7 separate regions of the Homo sapiens genome follow, and all the other regions are linked to region 7. Evidence: promoter capture Hi-C in 16 types of primary human blood cells and fetal thymus (Javierre and others, 2016). All regions are on one chromosome and are shown on one strand. Each heading gives the region's core, a stretch centred on a gene start or on the middle of the fragment in contact. The rest is flanking DNA. Distances are from core to core; before and after follow the strand shown. Region 1 overlaps CCDC146 (coiled-coil domain containing 146). Region 2 overlaps PHTF2 (putative homeodomain transcription factor 2). Region 3 overlaps PHTF2 (putative homeodomain transcription factor 2). Region 4 overlaps PHTF2 (putative homeodomain transcription factor 2). Region 5 overlaps MAGI2 (membrane associated guanylate kinase, WW and PDZ domain containing 2). Region 6 overlaps CCDC146 (coiled-coil domain containing 146). Region 7 holds the start of PTPN12 (protein tyrosine phosphatase non-receptor type 12).

Region 1 (3,559 bases), core at 116-2,615, 340 kb before region 7:
AAGTTTGCCACTGTTACATTCCCAGTCCTATAGTATACAGTAAGTCCTCACTTAACATCATGGATAGGTTCTTGGAAACAGCAACTTTAAGCAAAAACAGCATATTGTATGCCATAGGAACTTCATTCTTGTTTATGTCAATTAGCTTATGGTAAAATTGGTTTTGTTACATGGTATGTTGTTTTAACGTCGCTGTTTCTGAGAACCTATCAACAGCGTTAAGTGAGGACTTACTGTATTTGATCCTGTCTTGCCATATTCTCCCTGGCTGTAATTGCTTCTCACCTATGTTCACAGTCTCTCATATCCGCAGATTTGACCCTACCCACTACTTTCCCAATCATAACTGTGGCCTCTTTAGAGTACAACTCTTTCTCTGTGGCAACATATTATTAATCACTTTGAATAACAATACTCATGTCTCAAATTTCCTTTACTCCTATTCACACAGATTGATTTCAGGATAGAACTTAGACAATATTGAATAATATATAATAAGGAATATGTAGGATGGCATAAGATCTAGGAGAGGTGCCAGGACCCCACCTACTGTCATCAGAGAACTCTGCCTATAAGAGATAACTATTTAGGGCCTGGCGCAGTGGCTCACGCCTGTAATCCCAGCACTTTGGGAGGCCAAGGTGGGCGGATCACGAGGTCAGGAGATCGAGACCATCCTGGCTAACACGGTGAAACCCAGTCTCTACTAAAAATACAAAACAAATTAGCTGGGTGTGGTGGCGGGCACCTGTAGTCCTAGCTACTTGGGAGGCTGAGGCAGGAGAATGGTGTGAACCCAGGAGGCGGAGCGTGCAGTGAGCCGAGATGGTGCTACTGCACTCCAGCCTGGGCGACAGAGCAAGACTCCATCTCAAAAAATAAAAAATAATAATAACTACTTAGGATGATGATGATTTTTTTTCTCTGTCACCCAGGCTGGAGTGCAGTGGCGCCATCTCTGCTCACTGCAACCTCTGTCTGCCAGGTTCAAGCAATTCTCCTGCCTCAGCTTCCTGAGTAGCTGGGACTACAGGTGTGAGCCACCACACCTGGCTAATTTTTGTATTTTTAGTAGAGATGGGGTTTCACCATGTTGGCCAGGCTGGTCTCACGTGATCCGCCCACCTCGGCCTCCCAAAGTGCTGGGATTACAGGCATGTGCCACCAACACCCAGCTGGGAATGATGATTTTTAAATATATATGTTCTAGGTGCTTTATATATGTGATTTAATCCTCTCAATAACTCTATCAGGCAGATTCTATTACTATTCCTATTTTATAATTGAAGGAACCAAAGAACATTAAGTGACTTGCCCAGGATCATACAGCTTGCAAATAGTGGAGCTGAAATTCAAACCAGGAAGGCCAGCTCCTGAGTTCCTGCTGTTAATCATGGGTGATAAGACAAAACCCAGTGAGGAAAGAGGATGGCATTCTATCTAGACCAAGGAAACAGTATACTAAAGGCAATGAAAACATTAGAAAGCGTAGTTTGTTTGTGTACAACAAGGCGTTTAGTATGGCAGAAGTATAAGTAGTGGTAAAAATCATTTCATGAAGGGACTTATTTGCCAGATTTTATCTTGTAGAAAATAAGGCATTGTTGGCCGGGCACGGTGGCTAATGCCTGTAATCCCAGCACTTTGCGAGGCCTAGGCGGGTGGATCACGAGGTCAGGAGATCGAGACCATCCTGGCTAACATGGTGAAACCCCGTCTCTACTAAAAATACAAAAATTAGCTGGGCGAGGTGGCAGGCGTCTGTAGTCCCAGCTACTCAGGAGGCTGAGAGAGGAGAATGGCGTGAACCCAGGAGGCAGAGGTTGCAGTGAGCCGAGATCTCGCCATTGCACTCCAGCCTGGGCGACAGAGTGAGACTCCGTCTCTAAAAAAAATAAAATAAAATAATAAAAAAAAAGAAAAGAAGGCGTTGTTGAAAGTTTTTTAAGCAGGACAATAACATGATCAGAATTGTACTTTTGAACAATCCCCCTGGTAGGGATGAAAGTTGGACTGGAATAGACTGAAACCAGAGGTACAGACTATTCAGATGCGTTTGTGTTGTCCTAAGGAGATGAAGAGGGCTAACCAGAGCAGCAACACTAATAACGGAAAAAGAGGAGAGGAAGTTGAATGCCACAAAATGAAACTGAAACTTTTGTATTTCAAATGTTTCAACAGTATTCTAGAGGGAAGTAAGATAATGGTGTTCCTCTATTTGCCTCTGACTTCTTGTTAATGAAATAGTACTCATTAAAGTCTTCAGAGTCACAGATATTGTATAGCTGAGGTAAGCATTTTACAACTTTTCAGACACAAGTAAGTACATAAATATTATTTTACAACCAACAATATTTAATATTTCCACATTGAAGAATAGATGTGATAATTAAATCTTTTATAAGGTTTTAAAAAGACATGAAACATAAACCTAATTATACATAAAAGAAAAGAATTTTAAACAAGAGCTTATTGTGATGACATTACTCATAACTTTTACCTTTAAAACCTTTTCTTGGGTAGCTATTCAAAAGTAAAGACCACAAGTTTTGTTGCCCAGATTTCTTATGTTTTGTATATTTAAGCTCTTTATTTATTGAACAGATGTGTCATTAATTCATTTGGAGCATTACTATTATCAGTAAAATTTGATTTTTTTTTCCCCTCAGTCATAGGTAAATCAGCTCCACCTGGAATTTCTAAGGACCCAGTTTTAGTCAATATTTTCAAGTAATCATGACCTCAGAAATAGTCTTAATTAAGATAACAAATATTAGCCATCAAAATGGAACCAAGACAAGATTCTAATGTTTGTAAACAGTCAATCCATATTTATGAATATTAGCATATATTGGTGAATAGTTAAGGCAAAAGGTTCTAGCAGATGTAATCTATTTCCATCAACATGTTAAATGTTATAAAAGTCTAGAATTATTGGTAACATGAAATGATTCCAAAATGGAATTTCTGTGTTACAGAATTTACTAGAAAAGTGCTGTGAAAGTATAATGAAAAATAAAGTGATCCCTTGAAATAATGTGGATAGAACAAGCTTTTGAATATTTACATGGATTAATGAATTATTTGCCAAATTCTCCTGAAGTTATACCTAGTTCCCATTAAATTAATGGACACCGTGTATATGAGCATATACCTTTCTTTAGAACTATGTTTTGTGATAAGTCCATTTTTACTCACAGGAATTTACTTAAACTTGTACATATATTAATTATATATACTAAATGACAATGACCTTATCTGAAACAAATACATTGTATAATATCAAAACGTTTTTAGTCTTTTTTAAAAAGTAAAAAGTAAAAAACAACGTCAGTTACATCATTTACATTTGGTATCCCACCTAATAGAGACACAGCTTTTGAAATCTACAATATTTTACATTTTGGTCATCATTTAATGCTATTTGCATTTCTCTTTAACATTTTAATAGTATTTGTGATATATCATGTTTAACTGAAAGCTTTGGGTTATATATTTTAAAGGAATATCTTACTTTTTGACTAAATAGTTCTGTAAGGGCCTAATATTTGAAAAATTA
Region 2 (3,392 bases), core at 552-3,051, 400 kb after region 7:
TATTTCTGTCTCTAGATGGGCTTTCTTGGTATTGATATTCCTTTCTTCATGTAATTAGGAAGACCTTAATTCACTATTCCAGACTGAGAGTTTAAAAATGTCTGTAAATCAGTGGTTGAAATCTGTTGGCTCTCAAGCTTAAACTTCTTTCCTTTTAGCTTCTTGCACTTCCTGTTTCTGGCTTTTTGGTTTCCTTACGCTTAACAATTGTAAAATTTCTAGTGAAAGTTTGATACATATTTTGGTACAGATTATTTCTTTCCCAAAACAGAATATTTTGTTTGGAGATAAATGAGGAAATAACATTTGAGAAATTAAGTTGGTAGTTAATAACTAGTATCTTAGCACTCTTCAGGACCTCAAGTAGTGAAATGTATACCATGAAAGTTAAAGTATATTAAAATCCTTCATCTCTAGAAAAGATAAAAATTTCCCACCTCTTTTTTTTTACATTATTGAATTATTATTATTCAACTTTAGTTGAAATTAATCAATGCAACTTTACTCCCCCTAGAGGAAAGTGTTAAAAGTTTACAAGAAACATTTTTTTTACCATATTTTAATCACATTTTTGTCCTCTAAAGAATAAATGTACCTAGAGTAGATTCTTCTGTTCATTGTTAGAAGTTATATTTAATGAAATATTTTATAAAATTTGAGGTTGCTACGAATGCCAAAACTATTGTTTTTAGAAAATGTGGGAAGTGGCCAGACACCGTGGCTCACGCCTGTAATCCCAGCACTTTGGGAGGCTTAGGTGGGCAGATCACAAGTTCAGGAGTTCGAGACCAACCTGGTCAACATGGTGAAACCCCGTCTCTACAAAAATTTAAAGATTAGCTGGGCGTGGTGGTGGGCGCCTATAGTCCCAGCTACTTGGGAGGCTGAGGCAGGAGAATCACTTGAACCTGGGAGGCGGAGGTTGCAGTGAGCTGAGATCGCACCATTGCACTCCAGCCTGAGTAACAGAGCAAGACTCCGTCTCAAAAAACAAAATGTGGGAAGTATATGAGTCCTTAAAAATACACTAGAAATACTGCAATATAAACAAGCAAACTGATCTCTATCTGGGTTTAATCTTTTAGTGTTACTTCTCCTCTTGAAGTCTGATTATATAAAGGTTTAGTGTTTCATTAATTTTGTTGCCATCATTAACTCAACTGTTCTGTTTTGGGGCTGGGCGCAGTGGTTCACACCTGTAATCCCAGCACTTTGGGAGGTAGAGGCCGGTGGATCACCTGAGGTCAGGAGTTAGAGACCAGCCTGGCCAACATGGTGAAACCCCGTCTCTACTAAAAATAAAAAAATTAGCCAGGCATGGTGGCAGGTGCCTGTAGTCCGAGCTACTCAGGAGGCTGAGTGCTTCAGTTTTGTAATATTTGCTTTATCTGGAAAAAAAAAAAAAGTTAAATGGGTCCTTTGGAGAAATGCTGGATTAAAATATCAGAAAAGTAACTAAATCAGATATTAAACGTTAAATATGTAAGGAAGAGTCTTTTTTGGGATAAGACTAGCACTATATGGTCTTTCAAAGAGATTCAAATCTCAGCTGTCATATTCTTTTTTAATGATCATAAGTTGGACAATGATTACTATGAACAAGTTGATATCCATTTGTCTTTTAGCATTAGTATATTGCAGCTGTGTAGACTGACAACTAAGTACTTTTGCTGACATGTTTTAGTATATTTTTGAACATAGGTTGACTAATACTTGTTACAGAAAGTTCTCAACTTGTACAGTTTCATAACCATGTAACTTCTTATGATATCTGTTCAGTGTATATGCTAACTAATTTTAAGATAGAATTTTAGTGTCTTAGAGTTGTGTGTATAAATATATTAGCTGTGCACAGATCTATATATTCCATTTATAAAACATGATAAATATATTCACCAATTTTTATTTTTAGTGTCATTAAAATTGTGTGTGTATATAGAGATATATATACAACTTTATATACACACATTTTATTTATTAAATGTGATCTATATATTTACTAATTTTTTTTTTTTTTATAGAGTCATTTGCCCTGGCTCCATAGTTCCCACCCAGGATTAGAAAAAATAAGTGCTATAGTATGGGAAGGTAATGATTGTAAGAAAGCAGACATGTCTGTACTTGAAATCAGTGGAATGATAATGAACAGAGTGAGTTTTTAAATTTTATTCTTGTAGTTCAAGGGTAAGACTTAGTAATTATATATAAGATAATTACTGGAATATTATATTAGTAACCTTCTGACCTCATTTCTTCACCCTGAAAAAAAAGTTACATGTGTGTATTTGTTTCTGTCTGTAATTTAAACAGTGATTTGTCACCAAACCACTCTCATCTTCTAGTGTTTTCACTTATCTGACCAAGAATAGATGATACGGTCTATAATTTTTCTCTTTTATCTTTTTCTTTCTTTTGAAATTCAGGAGCTTGTTAGATATATACAGGTGTTAATAAAGACTTTTCTTTGGACTAGAGATTGTTGTTACAAGAACTTTAAAAATAAAAAAATAATTAAAAAGACTTATTTTTCTGTATCATTCTTACTGGTTCATTTGTTTAATAGGACTTAAGACATGAAAAAATCAAACTAGTAAATTTGCATTCATACTTGCTTACCTACTTAAATATATAGAAGTAATGCAGATAGTGGTAAAAGTCTTGAGTAGTTCAAAGAAGTCTAATTGAAATACTGTGGATTAAAATTTTATTTTCTATTATTTCTTTTTTCAGATAATTACTGATTTTTAAAATGTGTTGATTGGCCGGGCGCGGTGGCTCACGCCTGTAATCCCAGCACTTTGGGAGGCTGAGGCGGGCGGATCACAAGGTCAGGAGATCGAGACCATCCTGGCTAACATGGTGAAACCCCGTCTCTACTAAAAATACAAAAAAATTAGCCAGGCGTGGTGAAACCCTGTCTCTACTAAAAATACAAAAAATTAGCCGGGCGTGGTGGCGGGCGCCTGTAGTCCCAGCTACTCGGGAGGCTGAGGCAGGAGAATGGCATTAACCTGGGAGGCGGAGCTTGCAGTGAGCCAAGATCACGCCACTGCACTCCAGCCTGGGCGACAGAGCGAGACTCCGTCTCAAAAAATAAATAAATAAAAATAAAATAAAATAAAATGTGTTGATTTCTCTGGACTTGTTTTTAACTTGCAATTTCTAAATTTCTTTGGTGCATTATTGTGCTTGAACTCTTCTCCACACTTTGTGTAAGACAGGAATTATAATAACTGGGTCTAGAAATTGATAATACTCCCTATAACATATCTCAGTGTGAGCAATTAAAAGCAGTTGACGGGGAAGTCTCTGGAATCTTGGATCTAGTTTGTGCTCTGTAACTTAATTACCTGTGAATTGGCAGATCACTTAACTTACAATGGTCTCATTTA
Region 3 (3,211 bases), core at 461-2,960, 320 kb after region 7:
GTAGCCTAAATAATTTGGGTTTTAGTTTTATTTGTTTACAAGGAAAAAAGAAACTATACTATGTGATAGTTGAGGGTTTGACTTTAGAGGTTATCTAGTTCCTGTTAAACTTTTTGCTTTATAGGCAAGAAATCGGACACCCTTAGAAGTTAATAACTTGATCATGAATTAGTGATTAAAACCAAAACTAAGGTCTGCTGACTTTTAGGCCACTGGTCTTCCTGTCCTAAAGTTTCTTTGAGAAACAGACCGAAGAGACTTTGATGTAACTCATTTGTTTAATTTGAGAGGTTTTTTTTGTTTGTTTGTTTGTTTTTAGGTGACCTCTGATGTCTCTGTCTTTGGAGAAGTATACACTTTTTTTTTTTTTTTTAAAGATAGGGTTAGTATTACAGATACATATGTGTTGATTTAACAATGACAGGAATGATGATGATGTTAGAGTACCACCATACATTTAAATAGCATTTTTCCCAAGAGTGCTTCTGTATATAGTCTCATGGTTTAATTTATTGTGATAATGAAATAAATTAACTCAGTGGTTATAACAAGATATAAGAAGTTATATTGGTTTTCTATGTCTTTCATAACAAATGACCACAAACTGGGTGACTTAAAACAATAGAAGTTTATTTTTTTCACCATTCATGAGTCCAGAAGTCCAAAATCAAGGTGTCAGCAAGGATGGGTTCCTTCTGGAGAGAGACTGTGAGGGAAAAACTGTTCTCTGCTTTCTCCTAACTTCTAGTGAACAATCCTTGTTGTTCCCTGGCCTGTAGATTCATCATTCCAATCTTCACCTCAATCTTCACATTGCCTTCTTCACACTCTTTCTGTGTTCTCTCCTTTTCTTATGAGGACAGTAGTCATTGGATTTAAGTCTCATCTAAGTTAAGATCTTATCTTGAGATCCTTAACTAATTACATCTGCAAAGACCTTATTTCCAAATAAGGAACTATTCTGAGGTTCCGGTGCATGTGAATATTTGTGGGACACTATTCAACCTACTACTGAAGGATAACTGAAGTATATTTACTGGTTTTAATGGATTTCGTGTGGAGATGTGTAGCTTTATTTCCATCTGTGTAGCTGTATCGTAGACCACCAGTGAAGAACTGAGTAAGAGAAGGTCAGGATCCCAAATATTTTCTTCATGTTCTTAAAAGTTACGATTGTCGAACACCTAGGTCCTCTTTTTTTAAAAAAAATTTTTCATTCCTTAAAGATACCTTGCAAAACAGGAAGTGAGAATTTCTTTTCTTTCTTTCTTCTTTTTTTTTTTTTTTTTGAAGCAGGGTCTCTCTGTGTTACCTGTGTTGGAGTACAGTGGCACAATCACAGCTTACTGCAGCCGCAACCTCCCAGGCCTAAGCGATCTTCCCGCCTCAGCCTCTGGAGTAGCTGAGGCTATGACTATAGGCATGCACTAACACACCTGGCTAATTTTTTTATTTTAATTTACAATGAGACCCTGTCTCACTGTGTTGCTCAGGCTGGCCTTGAACTCTTGGGCTGAAGCAATCCTCCTGCTTTGGCCTCCCAAAGTGCTGGAATTACAAGTGTGAGCCACCATGCCTGGTACCTAGCTCCTCTTATATGAAGTGTTAAGGAATACGTTTATGCAAAATTAAGCACAATTTTCTGCTTTCAGTTCTTATTAAATAGATATTTGGGTTGTTTAACCTAACAGTTATGAGGTTTCCTTTCTTACTTATTATAAATAATAATAACATTCTTTCACTTTTAAAAAACTGCATGTAAGTTAAACCAGAGTGTATATTTCTCAATGTCCTAATCTTGGAGGATTGTCAAACCTACTTTGTGATAAATTATTGATTGTCTCTTAAAATGCTGATTGTCTCTATTGGGACCAAAAAACATTGAATATAAAAGTTTACATTTAGATGTGTATAAAATATTAATCTGTTGTTTTTGTTATAAAATTGGAGCAGTTGAGTCGACATGTGCAGTTTAAAAAATTTATACTCTTATTGAAATCAAATGTATGAGAATATTATTTTTTCTATAACTGCTACAGGCTACCGAAAAGCCATTCCTGTCTTTGAGGCTACAGGATTTTGTATTTGGGGCTAATTATACACAACAATTTAAAGTGATTATGTACTAGAGGACATATTTGGCTGTCCTAGGTTAGCTGGTTTTATTTTTATTTAGCAACTTTGGGTGAGTTTCTTAACTTTCCTAAGCCTTGGTTTCTTTATCTGTAATATTGAGATAAGAATCCTTTTAAAATTGCTGTGATGATTAAATGACACAACATATATAAACACCAAGTACAGTGCTTGGTGTATAGTAGGTATTCAATAAATACTGCTATAGCACTTCCTCTCCCTTCTGTTCACTTTTGCTAAATATAGACTGTTGTTATTAATCAAATGTTAAATTAAAGGTTTTTGTTAATTGCTCTTTTTTTTTGAGGCAGGCTCTCACTCTGTTACCCAGGCTGGAGTGCAGTGGCACAATCACGGTTCACTGCAGCCTTGACCTCCTCGGCTCAAGCAATCCTCCCACCCCAGCCTCCCATATAGGGACGTGCCATCATGCCCTGTTAATTTTTTGTTTTGTGTATTGTAGTGATGGGGTCTCACTCTGCTGCCCAGGCTGGTCTCGAACTCCTGGGCTCACGTTATCCTCCCACCTCGGCCTCCCAAATTGTTAGGATTACAGTCATGAGCCACCTTACCTGGCCTTAATTGTTCTCTTAAATTGGACATTTCTATATCAGTTAAAATGGAAAAACACCATTAGAAGTGGTCAGTTTTCCTTTGTATTTTTGAAAATTATGTACTTACATTTAATTGCTCTCTCCCTTATTCTTTAATTTCTTTTTTTATTTTTATTTATTTATTTTTATTGTTTGCTTTAATTTCTAACACAATTTTTTCCTTAGGGTGTGTCATTCTTTATCTGGGATCCTTTGAAGTACTTTGTTTTCATGGTAAAGAGGGGTGTTTTAGGAAGGAACAAAACAAATGATGCATTAAAAAGTGGATAGAATAGATAGCTATAAAGGCAGATATAGTTTCAGTTATATCTTACACTTAATTCTACATGGTAATTTTGAGGAATGCACTATCCTACGTGGTGAATTTTCTGGGTATTTTTTTTTAAATGATCAAATTTTCTTTTACTTTTGACTCTTTCCTTTAACACTGCAAATAGAGTAGAAATGACCATTTTCTAATATTT
Region 4 (3,529 bases), core at 938-3,437, 300 kb after region 7:
ATTCAGGTATTTTGACTCTAACCTTCTTTTCTTTCCATTATGTTAGGCTGTTTGTCAGGAATTTCAAAACATAGTTTGCTTGAATTTGATCAGTTAGAGTCACTAATATCTTAGGAAAGGTTATAAAATAATTTGGTTTATAACAGTCAAAAATACAGGCATTGAATAAATTCTGCTTTAAATTTTAGAGGTTTATCGTCTAAACATTTGAACTTGTTGATAATTTTTATTGTATCTGAATCTTAATATGCTCAAAAAGCATGCATGCTCCCACTCATGCATGCTCCCACTCATCATGCATGCTCCCAAGAGTGGTATATAAAACCTCCGGTACTTTGTTTACTGAGGCAAACTAGTGGTAGCGTTTCTACAGTTGCAGATCTGTATGTGCTAGGATTGGCTCAGCAGGGTGCTTTACCCCCAGGATTTCCCTGAGATCATCCTGTGTGTCCTTGGATGATTTTGGTTTGTAATGAGTTCTGCAGCCAATAACTGCTTTTGAACCTGTTTTAGGCTCATCCTTAACACTAGACCAGAGGTAACCTCTATGCCAGTGTCATCTTGTGACTAAAATAGTATTCTGGAGTTGATGGGAATCAGTCTCAAATAACCTCTAGGGTTAAGGAATCATTAAGTTTAGTACCTATCCTGTTTTAGACAAACACAGAAAAGATGCTTATGAAATGGTTTTTGGTATTTGTCTTAGTTTGATTATTTTTAAAAGAGATTTGCAGAGTTATAGAACATATCAGCAGTTTTAATCTGTTTCTTGTAAGTTACAATTCAGTAGCTTAATTTTTTTCAATAAAATAAACTTTTAGGGACTGTATTTTATAAACTGAAATATTAAAGAGTTTTTTTGATCTTTGAGGATTAATTGTCATAACTACTTAAATGACAGTTAGCAAACTGTGATATCTGGGAAGTCTTTAGTGTTAATTATTCCTGTGTATTAACTCTAATATTGGCTTAGTATTTAACATAAATACTTTTTGGCTCTTGGGTTATTTTAATTCAGTTTTGTGTTTACTGAGTGTCAGGGAAAATTAAATATCATTATAAATTCTGTCATCTCTGTTAAGCCATCCTTTAGCAATGGTAACTGACACTGGTTTTTAGAAACAAACTACATTACTGATTGAATGAATTGGTTTCTTGTATGTGGATTTTTAGATGAACAATTTCTGGTATAACCTAGGAAATTCTGAAATTTCTTTAAAAGATTAAAAAAAATTCAATCTATTTTGTAAGAAAACAAGTGTTATTTATTCATGCAAATAGAACTTTCTATTATTGTGGCAACTGATTTTTGTTTACTTAAGAGAACCTGTTGCTAAAATAGTAATGAGGAAGAGTGTAATATAAGTCTCGTCATACACCCCTTGCTCTGCAAGTAACCAGAGTGCTATGTCTGCATGCTGTTCAGTCTCCTTTTGGAAGGTGGGAAATAAAGTCATTTGTATGTTTTTCTCTCTTGCACAGCCTAAAATGACCAATGTGTGATTTCAGTGGAATAAATGGCGTCCAAAGTCACAGATGCTATAGTCTGGTATCAAAAGAAGGTAAGTTGATAGTCAAAACTTTTAGCTTTCTAAATGTTTGAATTTCAAAAATACATGTTTATTTCATGCTATAGATGTTAGGATTTTGAGTGGGAAAGGAAGATTATTTTTATTTTTCTTGTACTTATTTTACTTCTAAATAAATTGGAAAGATGATGCTTAAACATATTTTTTCTCTACTTTTTACTCTACAATAGCAAAGTAGCTAGATTAATTATAATAGAAAGCAAATCTCCAGGAGTGGATAAAATTAGCATTTTATAAAAACATTAACACTTTCCTTAGTTTAATTTTTTAAAAGAAAGATTAGCAGAGCTGTTACATAACTTATATCAATAGTTTTTAATTTGTTTCTTGTAAGTTACAATTCAATAGCTGAATGTTTCAGTAAAATAAAGTTTTGGGAACTCTATTTTACAAACTGAAATATTAAAGTGTTTATTTTGATGTTTTAGGATTGTCGTACCTACTTTAAATAGCTGTATCATCTTATATATTTCAGAATAAGCTTTACCAATGTAATGTTTTTCTTTATAAAGTCCAAAAGAATATAGGCATTTTTTGACAATACAATAAACTGTTTGCTCCTAATGAGTGTTGTTTATATTCTTTAAAATTTATGTTGTTTTGTGTAATACCTTAGATCTTTTGTGTACATAGTGGATTATATTTGTGTTCACATTTTAAAACATTTTTATACCTTATTCTTCAGGTCTCTATTAACAAAATATAATGATACATTTAAAGCTTTTCTTATATAGGAGAAAAAACAGACTTTTTTTTTTTTTTTTTTTTGAGATGGAATCTCTCTCTCTGTCACCCAGACTGGAGTGTAGTGGCGCGATCTCGGCTCACTGCAACCTCTGCCTCCTGGGTTCAAGCGATTCTCTTGTCTCAGCCTCCCAAGTAGCTGGGATTACAGGCATATGCTACCATGCCTGGCTAATTTTTGTATATTTAGTAGAGACAGGGTTTCGCCGTGTTGGTCAGGCTGATCTTGAACTCCTAACCTCAGGTGATCCGCCCGCCTCAGCCTCCCAAAGTGCTAGGATTACAGGCTTGAGCCACCGCGCCCAGCCAAACAGATGATTTTTAAGTTTTGTTCAATTGAAAATAAGTGATAATTAAAACACTTTAAAAGTTAGACAAACTAAGAATATGGCCTTTTTAAAAATATTTTTTGAGACAGGATCTCACTCTGTTGCCCAGGCTTGAGTGCAGTTGCACACTCATGGCTCACTGCAACCTTAACCTCTTGGGCTCATGTGGTCCTCCTACCTAAACCTCCCTTAGTAGATGGCATGGGATTATGGTCTGTTTTTAGATGTGTTATTTGTTTTCTGGGTAGAACATGCCATAGGTATACAATTATATTTTTCATATGAGGTACTTTATTGGAAGTATTGATATTGATATACTATTAATTGTCTTTTGTGTTTGTTAGTGCCTCCTTTTAAACTTTTAAACTTCCAATCAAGTTAAAAATCAGTCTGCTTAGCTAAAGAGCTAAAGAAAATTGTAAGTTAAGGAAAACAAAACAAAACAAACTTTAAAAATTTTCCTGTCTATATCTTTGAAAGTTTTTCTCTTTCCTAATTTCTATCTACGGGAGTAATAAACATTTTCTCTGTTTGGCTTTTTACATTAAACACTTTAGACTTTACTGAAGATCATTTATAGAACATACTTGATTGACCTTTCTTGGGATCAGAGGGTTTGAAATATTATACTCAGATTCAGTTAGCCCTGTAACTGAAGTTAGCCCTGTAATTGAAATGACCCTCTTATCCAAGGGTCATTTACCTGACAGCTTTGGATACATGCAACCAAAATATTCTCCAGAGCAACTATAGGAAATGTCATAAAATATACTAGCAAATGTAATCACATATTCTATTATATATATATTTATTTATTTTTGAGACAGGGTCTCACTCTGTTAACACAGTCTGGAGTGCTGTGGCACA
Region 5 (3,596 bases), core at 13-2,512, 490 kb after region 7:
AGTATAATCTGTCAAAAACAGGTTTGTATTTGGAACTTTGATCAGTTTTGAGAGGGATGATGGTGGTGAAATGGTAATGTGTATGTGAAGCGGGAGGGGAAATGACTAAGTTTGGGGAGAGGGAACAAGGAGGAAGCCAGCCACAGAAATACACTGGGAAGAGTTCCCGCTTTCATCGGAGGCCCCTTAGGATGGACAGGGATGAAGAGAAGCTCAGATTCCCAGGGCGCAAAGTCAAATTCTGAATTTTTATGGATGTTCTTTCCCGTGTTATGAGCTCTAATGATGCAGTAATAGCTTTACTTAAAGGAGCTCTGTCCCTGGGAAGTCATTAACCAACATGCCAGAAAATGTTCCAATGAACCCACAGGTAAGATAGACTCTAAATATCTTATATTCCACTGTGGGAGAAGCAAGCCCCTCTCCTAAGTTAGGATCAAGTTTCTTACCCTTCCTATTGTCAGTTCTAGCCAGTTTGGATCTTTCCTAGAAAACAGATTGATTAATCCATAAGTACATATCAGTATATATACACACAGATCACACACACCCCATTATGTTTTAGTTAAAAGATGTATGGTTTCTCAAATTATCTTGTAGGAGCCCAGCAATATTAAAAAATAAAATGTGCTCCTTCACTTCATATGCCAGAAATAAAAAATCTCATCTACAGAAATTGTGTTTCAACAGCTTGTTTATGATATATAACCAAAGTGATGGTAAAACCAGAGAGCTGACCCAATAGGAATAAACTGCTTGTTGCAGTAAATAAGTATCTGTATTCTTGGTTTTCCCATATGGCTCTTAACTCCAGCAAACATTTGTGCAGAAGAGGAAAGCATAACCCACATCAAAGGAGAGTTAATTTTATCCTGTGCTGAAGACACAGAGGTTGAGAAAGAAAAATCTTTTAAGGATTGTGCCCAAATTATAATGGTTCATTTGCATCTGTTCCACCATCACAAAGGTGATTGCTCTTTATAACAAAACATAAACAAGAAAACCCTTAGAAGGGAGCCAGAGACTGTGGGCAATGGTGGGGTTCGGGTGGGGCCGGAGGTGGGGTGGGGAAAGAGACTTTGTCAGCTGTCCCATACCTCACCAGTGGCCTCAGGGCATCCAGCTTCAGGCTGGGTGTTTCCGAAAGCCATGAATAAGAGTTCCTACATTGCTTTCCTACTCTCATTACAGGGCATGAACCCAGGGCCTAACGACTGCGTCTTGGATTAGAGTGGTCAGGAAGATAATAGAAGCATTATTGCTATTGATACTACTCATAATGGCAATAGCTAACACTGACTGAGGTACTTACTAGATGCCAGGCACTCTTTGAAGGCCCTGAAATGTATTAACTCATGTTAATACATGTAAACTGACACATTTTACAGATGAGGAAACAGAGACACAGAGGTTAAGGAACTTGTTCAAGGCCACACAGCTGGTAGCTAAGGGGCATTGAATGGCTTTCGGAATTGGGTAATGTTCTACAAACTCAGCTGAAACACTGACGCTGAATGTCTTTACTGTCTGCTAGTCTGATTGAGAAATGAGGGCTCATGTCTTCTTCTGGGGCAGTATAACAGAAACTTCCATCTAAAGTGATTGTCAGAAGCAGGTCCATCGTTATTCCTAATGGAGACTCTCAAACGCCATTTGTGTTTGAACCTTGGACACAGTCGCTATGATTAGAGCATTGATCTGTGAAAATGATAGAAATATGACCTGCAGGCCAGGCGCGGTGGCTCACACCTGTAATCCCAGCACTTTGGGAAGCCAAGGCGGGTGGATCACCTGAGGTCAGGAGTTCAAGACCAGCCTGGCTAACATGGTAAAACCCCGTCTCTACTAAAAATACAAAAATTAGCCGGGTGTGGTGGCACATGCCTGTAATCCCAGCTACTCGGGATGCTGAGGCATGAGAATCGCTTGAACCTGGGAGGCAGAAGTTACAGTGAGCCGAGATCATGCCTCTGCACTCCAGCCTGGGCGACAGAGTGAGACTCCATCTCAAAAAAAAAAAAAAAAGAAAGAAAAAGAAAAAGAAATATGACCTGCAATCAGAGAACAATAAAATTGGATTTCTTAAGGGCAGGGATAGTACTATCTACTTAAAAAAATATCTTCACAGTGACATTCCTTGAAGCTGGATTGAATTGAAAATATATTAGATACTGGAGACACTGAGTCACTTTGAGACATAAATACTTTTACTGCTCAAATGACTAGAATTATTCTGTAAAAATATCCATGAATTTAGTGCCATTTGTTATAAAACTCTTTCCTGTTGCAACCTACAGTTGTCTGGGGTTAGACAATACTGGTGTGGTTTTATTGAAATCTATTTTCTTTTAATTTAGAATATTATGGGAAAATACTAAAATGATTAAGGTAGATCAAAGGACAGTAATGTGAAGTCATTTGGCATTCAAAAGAAAAACCTTTTAAGAATTGTGTTCAAACTATAAAGGTTCATTTGCATCTGTTCAGCCATCACTAAGGTGATTGCTTTTTGTAACAAAATATAAACAAAAGTACCTTGAAAATTGCAGAACAAATGGTTTTACTTTGCATCTGCTCTTTCTGAAGCATTGTTTCCAAGTATGGAGCCATCGTTAATGGCCTTCAAACATGTATTTGTTTCACTTATATTACCAGAGATGTAAACTAGATGTTATGAACATTAATAACTTTTACAATGGTGATGGTATTTGCTTATTGAAGCTTCACATTTATATTCATTTTAAAAGCATAATCAAAGGTGCAGCAATGAATCTGTGGCAAGTTTTAGCTACCTCTATGGCCAAAAGGGCAAATCTCATGGATAGGTGGGGCTGTTAACAATGGAGCAGCTATCTACTGAGAGCCTTCTATGTACTAGGAACTCTGCTGCGTGGATCACATATGTATATTATCTTTTAATCCTCCTAACAGTTCAAAGAACTATGGTGCTATTAGGCCAGGTGTGGTGGTTCACACCTGTAATCCCAGCACTTTGGGAGGCCAAGGTGGGCAGATCACTTGAGGTCAGGAGTTCGAGACCAGCCTGGCCAAGATGGCAAAACACCATCTCTACTAAAAATACAAAAATTAGCTGGGCATGGTGGCACGTGCCTGTAATCCCAGCTACTCGGGAGGCAGGAGAATCTCTTGAACCTGGGAGGCGGAGGTTGCAGTGAGCTGAGATTGTGCCACTGCACTCCAGCCTGGGCAACAGAGCAAGACTCCATCTCAAAAAAAAAAAAAAAAAAAAAGAACTATGTTGCTATTATCCCCATTTCAAAGATCAGGAAACTGAGAGGTAGATAAATTAAGCAATTTGCCAGGACCACTAAGCTAGTAAGTGAGAATCAGGATAACTGACTGAGTAACTCTAGAGTGCAAGCCCAAAACACTACTCTGTTATATTAATAACCTTATTAATATAACCTTATTAATATTCCAACCTTTTCCACATTGGGACACATACAGAAAAGGATGATACCTGGACAGTGCACTGTAGTAAACATGAAAATGATCAAGGTCTGAAGATACCAAACCCTTTCTGAACACTCTGAGGGCTAAGGGGAGGCAACATCTTGGTATAACTCACGAGAGGT
Region 6 (3,150 bases), core at 1-2,500, 320 kb before region 7:
CATCCCGGCTAACATGGTGAAACCCTGTCTCTACTAAAAATACAAAAAAACAGCCGAGTGTGGTGGCGTGCACCTGTAGTCCCAGCTACTTCAGAGGCTGAGGCAAGAGAATGGCATGAACCCAGGAGGCGGAGCATGCAGTGAGCCGAGATCACGCCACTGCACTCCAGCCTGGGTGACAGAGCAAGACTCCGTCTCAAAAAAAAAAAAAAAAAAAAATTGAAGAAAAAAATCCCATTCACAGTGATATGTCTCAAATAAATAAACAAATAATAAATAAATAAACAAAAAAGAAAAGAGTAAATTATTCATGGTTATTGGCTAAGCCTGTAAGTGTCATTAGCAGATTCTAGCCTACATGGCAAGAGGTAAGGTAATGTGGTAATGTAATAGAAAATTTTTTTTAAGAAGCTGGGCCATTTGTCCCATAAATTTTTCCATAATCTGGATTTTGCTTAATAGTAAGCCTGTATTTCCATTATAATCATAGAGCCTTAGTGCATAAATGTTTTATCCAGGTCACATTAATTTTTTTTTTTTTTTTTTTTGCCAAGGCTACTTTCTAGGTGGTGCCATCAACTTTGTTTTTTGTTGTTGTTCAAGTTTTTATTAAATTTTTTATTGTCACATGTACATATTTATGGTTTACATAGTGATGGCTTTTTGTGTGGTGGTGGTGGTGGTTTGAGGCAAGATCTCACTTGGTCACCCAGGCTGGAGTGCAGTGGCGCAATTACAGCTCACTGCAGCCTTGACTTCCTGGGCTCAAGCATCCTCCCACCTCAGCCTCCCGAGTAGCTGAGTCCACAGGTGTGCACCACTATGCTTGACTAATTTTTTTTTAACTTTTAGTAGAATCAAGGTCTCACCACATTTCCCAGGCTGGTCTTAAATTCCTGATTTCAATCAATTCTCCCACCTCAGCCTCCCAAAATACTGGGATTACAGACATGAGCCACCTTGCTCTACCCATAGTGATGTTTTGATACTTATAATGTATAGTAATCAGATCGGGTTAATTAGCATAGCTGTCATTTCAAACATTTATCATTTCTTTTTAATTATTATTTTAAATTCAGAGGTTATATGTACAGGTTTGCTACACAGGTATACTGCATAATGTTGGGTTTGGCTTTCTCTTGAACCCATCACATAAATAGTGAATATAGTACCCAGTAGGCAGTTTTTAAACCCTCACTGCCCTCCCTCCCATTCTGAAGTCCCCAGTGTCTATTGTTTCCATCTTTATGTCCATGTGTACCTATTGTTTAGCTCCCACTTATAAGTTAGAAAATGAATACTTTGATTTTGTTTCTGCATTCATTCACCTAGGATAATGGCCTCCAGCTGTATTCATGTTGCTGCAAAGGACATGATTTCATTCTTTTTTATGACTGCATAGTATTCCATGGTGTATATGTATCACATTTTCTTTATCTAATCCTAATGGATGGACACTTAGGTTGATTCCATGACTGCTATGGTGAATAGTGCTGCAATAAATATAAGAGTGCAGGTGTCTTTTTGATAGAATGATTTCTTTTCCTTTGAGAATCCCAGCAGTGGGAGTGCTGGGTCAAATGGTGGTTCTATTTTTAGTTCTTTGAAAAATTTCCATGCTGTTTTCCACAGGGGCTGAACTAATTTACATTCCAACCAGCAGCGTATAAGGATTCCTTTTTTTCCACATCCTTGCCAACATATTATATTTTGACTTTTTAATAATAGCCATTCTGATTGGTGTGAGATGGTATCCCATTGTGGTTTTCATTTGCATTTATCTGATGATGACAAGCATTTTTTCATATGATTGTTTACTCATATGTCTTCTTTTGGGAAGTGTCTGTTCATGTCCTTTGCCCACCTTTTAATGAGGTTATTTGTTTTTTGCTTGTTGATTTAAGTTCCTTATAGATTCTGGATATTTGTCCTTTGTCAGCCTGATAGTTAGCAAATATTTTCTCCCATTCTGTAGATTGTCTGTTTGCTCCATTGATTGTTTCTTTGCTGTGCTGAATCTCTTTAATTAAATTTCATTTGTCAATTTTTGTTGTTGTTGCATTTGCTTTTGAGGTCTTAGTCATAAATTCTTTTTCTAGTCTAATGTTTAAAAGTTTTCTTTTAGGATTTATATAGTTTGAGGTCTTACATTCAAGTCTTTAATCCCTCTTGAGTTAATTTTTATATGTGGTGAGAGCCAGGGGTACCGTTTCATTCTTCTGAATATAGCTAGCCACTTTTTCCAGTACCATTTTTTTGAGTAGGACGTCCTTTCCCAATTGTTTCTTTTTGTCAGCTTTGTTGGAGATCAGTTGGTTGTAGTATATGGCTTTATTTCTGAGTTCTCTGTTCTGTTCCATCGATCTGTGTGTCTATTTTTGCACCAGTACCGTGCTATTTTGGTTACTACAGCCTTGTAGTATAGTTTGAATTCACAAAATGGGATGCCTCTTGGTTGCATGAACTTTCATCAGGAGGCACATGATATTGGTTGTCTCCCTTTTAGTGATGTTACCTGCTATTAATAATACTTGCCTGGGTCTATTAATTCATTAGGAATTTTAAATGACAATATTATAATACTATTATTTTCTCTTCACTTATTTATTAGAATCCTTCTAAAAAGAGAAGCTTCCACTCAGTTATTTGGTTACCCTGCTGTAGAGGCATGATAAATACTTGATTTTCAGGTTTTCAAAATGATTAATTGATTCCCCAGTATCCTTCAAAGGTGAGAGGTGTTGTGGGGTGTTTTTATTTTTTTGGTGTTTTTTTTTTTTTGAAGTATTACTGTGAACTCATTTACTTAAACATAGTTATTCCCATCCTTTATAGTTGTTAGCTCATTGCCAGTCCTCCTGGCCCATTTTTTGGGTAGTGGGAGCCTTTTGACATGACTCCAAATCCCTTTGACATGATTCTAGTAGTCTTGGGTAGATTTTTTGCTTTTCTGATATGACAGAAGCATTGGAGGCTCATTTGTTTCCATGCTCAAAACTTGGAATCAGTCATTTCTCCAAAGGAGCCTCCCCTTTTTCTTTAAGTGGGAAATGGTATTTAGAGACTAGAATCTTGGAGTAAGAGGTACTCATTGCTGCTAGGTTAATCTTTGTTTCTATGCCTTTTTAATGGACAGAACTAGGAAAGATA
Region 7 (3,431 bases), core at 168-2,667:
AACTTCTAGTTACGGCTCTGCTAAGAATACGCTGGGGGATGTCAGGAAGTCGCTTTATTTGTAAAATGATGAGTTAGACCAGAATATATTCTCTGATAGAAGTTTACAAAGATGAATAAAGATTTATAGGCTAGGCGCGGTGGCTCACGCCTAAAATCCCAACACTTTCGGAAGCTGAGGATCCCTAGTGCACAGGAATTCGAGATCAGCCTGGGCAACCTGGTGAGACCCCCTTCTCTACCAAAAATAAATAAATAAATAAATAATAAATTTTTAAAATGTATTAGCTGGGCTTGGTGACGTAGTGAGGCAGGAGGATGCCTTGAGCCCAGGAGTTCAAGGCTGCAGCGAGCCGTGATCATAGCACTGCACTTTGGCATGGGAGATAGAGCAAGACCTTAGCTCTAAAAAAAAAAAAAAAAAAAAATTAATAGATTTATAAAGTCCATTCTATGGAGGAAAGTCTCTTATTCAGTTATGAACTGCTGCGAACCTAAAGGCAGGAAGGCAAATTCCCTTCAGTTCGGCAAACACGAAGACCCCACATTCGCGTCGTCTGTGAAGAAGGCACTCCGAACCTCAGGCGCTCACTCGCCAGGTTTAAGAGGATGAGCAAAGAATAAAAGTCCTCTCACCCAGGAAGCGTTTCGCTTCCCTTAGCTGGAGCCACGCTCCAAGGTGCCAAAGCCTAATTGCTGTCCACTCTCACCAATCCGTTAGCAAGATGAGCATCTACCTGCTGCGAACGTGGCGGTGACACTACTACAGCTCCCAGCCTGCCTCCCGCCCGCCCCCACTCCTGGACTCCACAGACCGTGACTTGTAGTCCCAGCCCACGGCTGGCGGCGGTGCGGGACTCCTGAAAACTGCTTTTCCTCCCTAGTAGGCGGTGAGACCGCAAATTCCATCAGAATCCTACTCTGACCCACTAGGGCTTGGCCCGCTCAGAGTCGCATTCCCTCCTCCAAATGAACCAACTCTCCTCCCAGCGATACTCCGACCTCTGAGCACCCCGGGCGGGGCCACGCCCCGGAAATGGAGTCAGGTCTCCAGGCCGCCCGCTGAAGTGCCTTCCAGCCACTCCAAGCGGGGCTGGGGCCGGCGGGGCGGGCTTGGGGGCGTGGCCGGGAGGCGGGCGGGGATGCATCTGCGGGCGCAGCGCTTGGGGCGGAGCCGCAGCGCGAGGCCGCGCATCTGGGTGGCGGCGGGGACGCGCCCGTGGGGAGAGGCGGCTGCGGCTGCGGCTGCGGCTGCTGGCGGGGGGTGGGGGGGAGGAGGAACCGGGAAGGGGGGGCAGGGCGAGCGGAGAGCTAGCTGTGTTCCTGAGGCGGCGGCGGCGGCGGCGGCGGCGGCGGCGTCTCCGACGGAGGAGGAGGGCGGGGAAGGAGGATGGAGCAAGCTGGGGGTTGGGGTTGGCGCTAGCGCAGCGGCTCGCCTGGTACTGTGGGAGAGCGGCGGCTGCTCCTGGAAGTTGTGGTGTCGGGAGCCCAGCCGGTGCCGCCGCAGCCGCCGCCTAGGGCGGTGGGGAGGAGGAGGGAGCCGCGGGGCTTGGCGGGGTCGGGAGGGAGGGACGTGCTGGGGGAACGAGCTGGGGAAGACGGAGCGGGCTCTGTGCCGGGCGGGCGGGCGGCGGGGGGGCCAGCGACCGCAGCCGGGGGGACGCGGGAGGATGGAGCAAGTGGAGATCCTGAGGAAATTCATCCAGAGGGTCCAGGCCATGAAGAGTCCTGACCACAATGGGGAGGACAACTTCGCCCGGGACTTCATGGTGAGTCTCTCCCCTCGCTGTCGCGTTTTCTTGCCGGCGCCGGAGCCCATCGCCGCCTCTCCCGGCCGGGCCGCCAGTGCTTTGTGTACCTCTGTGAGGAGAGGGGCGGAGGGGGCGCGCACCAGCCGGGTGAGCCGGGTGGTCTCGGAGGCCAGCGGGAGGCGAGAGCGCCTCCCCCCGTGGCCTCCTTTCTTCTCCCATGTTCGCGACCCCCGCGCGGGTTCCCGGGACGCGAAGGGAGCGGCCGCGCGGCCGAGCCCGCAGCCTGCACCGTGGCTCGCGACCACCTATTGTTTACCGGGCCGGGAGCCGTAGGCAAGTGAGGTGCAGGCCGGGGGGGGGGGCTCGCGTTTCCACACCTCCCCGCGCAGTTCGCTCCTCCCAGGAGGGTCGAGGCAAGGTATCTGGCTGTGACCGGGAGGAGTGCAGATCGTGGCTGACAGAGGAACGGGGGTATTGAGGTTGGCACTAACTCCTGGGATCCCTTTGCTCTAGCTGGTCTCAAAGCGGGCAGGGTAGGACTTAGGCCGTTTCTGGGGTCGCAGTCATGATCTCCAACGCTTGGGAAAGGATTGCCCATAAGGAATCTCATGGGTTTACCTAATTTCCATTTACCCGCGTCCCGCTTCTCCTCTCCTGAGGCCCAGGTTTGAGGTGGTCTTGGGGTCCGTGTGACTATAGGTTCAGGGGATAAGTGTGGGTGGGGGAATTATCCTGAAGGAAGCCAGCCGACTTCGGACTCCCCAGGGGATATTGCCGAAGGCGGAGGGGATGTGACTATCACTTCCTATCCGGGGTGGGGGTGGGGAACTTGGGAACAATAGTCCTGGTGGGGCGGAGGCGACGCTACGGGCCGAAGCCCTGAACTGGGAGATAACCTTCCCAGCGCCCCCCCGCCTCCGCCACCCCCTACTTTCCGCCCTCTGCTTGTGCAGGCAGTCTTGAGAGGAGGTGAAGGTTAAAAGTCTTGTTCATGAAATTGCTCTAGATACACTATTGCTTTAGCACACTGTGAGGGGGTCAGATCCGAAGGCGTGAGACCAGAAGTCGACTTCCTACGTTACCCACCCCCCCAACCCCCGCCCTTTTTATTTTTCTGCTGGACAATGTTCCCTCTAGGGTTGTTTCCCGGCTTAGGAGGCGGTGGTTGCGGCTGCTGCTCCTACGGATATTGCGCAAGACTGGGGCGTTGGAAACCCTGTAGGTCTGGGGAATGAAAAAGGAAGTGGGACTTTGGGAAGTGGTTGCTCCTTAGTCTTGGCGGGGGTTGGGAATGGGAAATAAGCTGGGGAAAATTTTTATCTTGGGTAAGGTACACCTCGAAGAATAATCACTTAATTCTGAAATCTGATTATGAGAAGGATACACAGTTAATGCCTGTAAAATGAATGGGCAGCAAACATTGGCTAGTTTTTATTTTTTGTTTAAAAAGTACAGTAGTTTTTATGGTGGAGGTGATATGACTTAGTAGTGAATACTTTTTCACGTTTTAAAGAGACTGGTCTAGTAAAGCTTTAGCGTTAAATTTTTAACAGCTTATAAAATAGGCCCTTGACCATACACAGTATTATACTAGCATCGTTGAGCTTTGTGATTCCCGCCTCCCCAGACCAATAATAGAGGACGGAAGTAAAGTTTTCTCAGTATCTTTTGAAGATTGAAA

The links. Contacts are between HindIII fragments. The CHiCAGO score rates a contact against its expected background, and 5 or more counts as called.
Region 1: a fragment that was not itself captured here is called in contact with the fragment with the promoter of PTPN12 in region 7 in 13 of 17 cell types (monocytes, neutrophils, M0 macrophages and 10 more); the score reaches 15.5 in monocytes.
Region 2: a fragment that was not itself captured here is called in contact with the fragment with the promoter of PTPN12 in region 7 in 2 of 17 cell types (total B cells and naive B cells); the score reaches 8.6 in total B cells.
Region 3: a contact is called between a fragment that was not itself captured here and the fragment with the promoter of PTPN12 in region 7, in 1 of 17 cell types (total CD4 T cells). The highest score is 5.5, in total CD4 T cells.
Region 4: a fragment that was not itself captured here is called in contact with the fragment with the promoter of PTPN12 in region 7 in 1 of 17 cell types (total B cells); the score reaches 7.1 in total B cells.
Region 5: a fragment that was not itself captured here is called in contact with the fragment with the promoter of PTPN12 in region 7 in 1 of 17 cell types (naive B cells); the score reaches 5.6 in naive B cells.
Region 6: a fragment that was not itself captured here is called in contact with the fragment with the promoter of PTPN12 in region 7 in 3 of 17 cell types (neutrophils, monocytes and M0 macrophages); the score reaches 9.5 in neutrophils.

The regions. Positions count from the first base shown.
Region 1 is chr7:77,191,037-77,194,595 of GRCh38, forward strand. All of the region lies in intron 2 of CCDC146 (coiled-coil domain containing 146), which reads left to right. FGL2 (fibrinogen like 2) reads right to left here. Exons shown (of 2, transcript NM_006682.3): 2 at 2,333-3,559. Among named protein-coding and RNA genes, the nearest start is that of FGL2, 7.0 kb to the right of the region's middle. The HindIII fragment of the contact is 3,370 bases long and covers 1-3,050 here.
Region 2 is chr7:77,935,689-77,939,080 of GRCh38, forward strand. PHTF2 (putative homeodomain transcription factor 2) reads left to right here. Exons shown (of 19, transcript NM_001395272.1): 12 at 2,022-2,150. Among named protein-coding and RNA genes, the nearest start is that of DDX3ILA1, 53 kb to the right of the region's middle. The HindIII fragment of the contact is 3,332 bases long and covers 136-3,392 here.
Region 3 is chr7:77,858,293-77,861,503 of GRCh38, forward strand. The region is part of intron 2 of PHTF2 (putative homeodomain transcription factor 2); the gene reads left to right. Among named protein-coding and RNA genes, the nearest start is that of PHTF2, 61 kb to the left of the region's middle. The HindIII fragment of the contact is 5,217 bases long and covers 1-3,211 here.
Region 4 is chr7:77,838,739-77,842,267 of GRCh38, forward strand. PHTF2 (putative homeodomain transcription factor 2) reads left to right here. Exons shown (of 19, transcript NM_001395272.1): 2 at 1,483-1,562. The coding sequence starts at 1,518. Among named protein-coding and RNA genes, the nearest start is that of PHTF2, 42 kb to the left of the region's middle. The HindIII fragment of the contact is 239 bases long and covers 2,069-2,307 here.
Region 5 is chr7:78,025,619-78,029,214 of GRCh38, forward strand. All of the region lies in intron 21 of MAGI2 (membrane associated guanylate kinase, WW and PDZ domain containing 2), which reads right to left. Among named protein-coding and RNA genes, the nearest start is that of DDX3ILA1, 37 kb to the left of the region's middle. The HindIII fragment of the contact is 2,914 bases long and covers 1-2,719 here.
Region 6 is chr7:77,212,423-77,215,572 of GRCh38, forward strand. The region is part of intron 2 of CCDC146 (coiled-coil domain containing 146); the gene reads left to right. Among named protein-coding and RNA genes, the nearest start is that of FGL2, 14 kb to the left of the region's middle. The HindIII fragment of the contact is 2,757 bases long and covers 1-2,629 here.
Region 7 is chr7:77,535,878-77,539,308 of GRCh38, forward strand. PTPN12 (protein tyrosine phosphatase non-receptor type 12) reads left to right here and starts at 1,418. Exons shown (of 18, transcript NM_002835.4): 1 at 1,418-1,768. The coding sequence starts at 1,670. It overlaps LOC124901681 (a long non-coding RNA gene), which reads right to left and starts at 1,072. Exons shown (of 3, transcript XR_007060395.1): 1 at 494-1,072; 2 at 1-404. RefSeq lists enhancers at 498-547, 718-937 and silencers at 1,008-1,307, 1,558-1,767, 1,908-1,957. The HindIII fragment of the contact is 6,799 bases long and covers 1-3,278 here.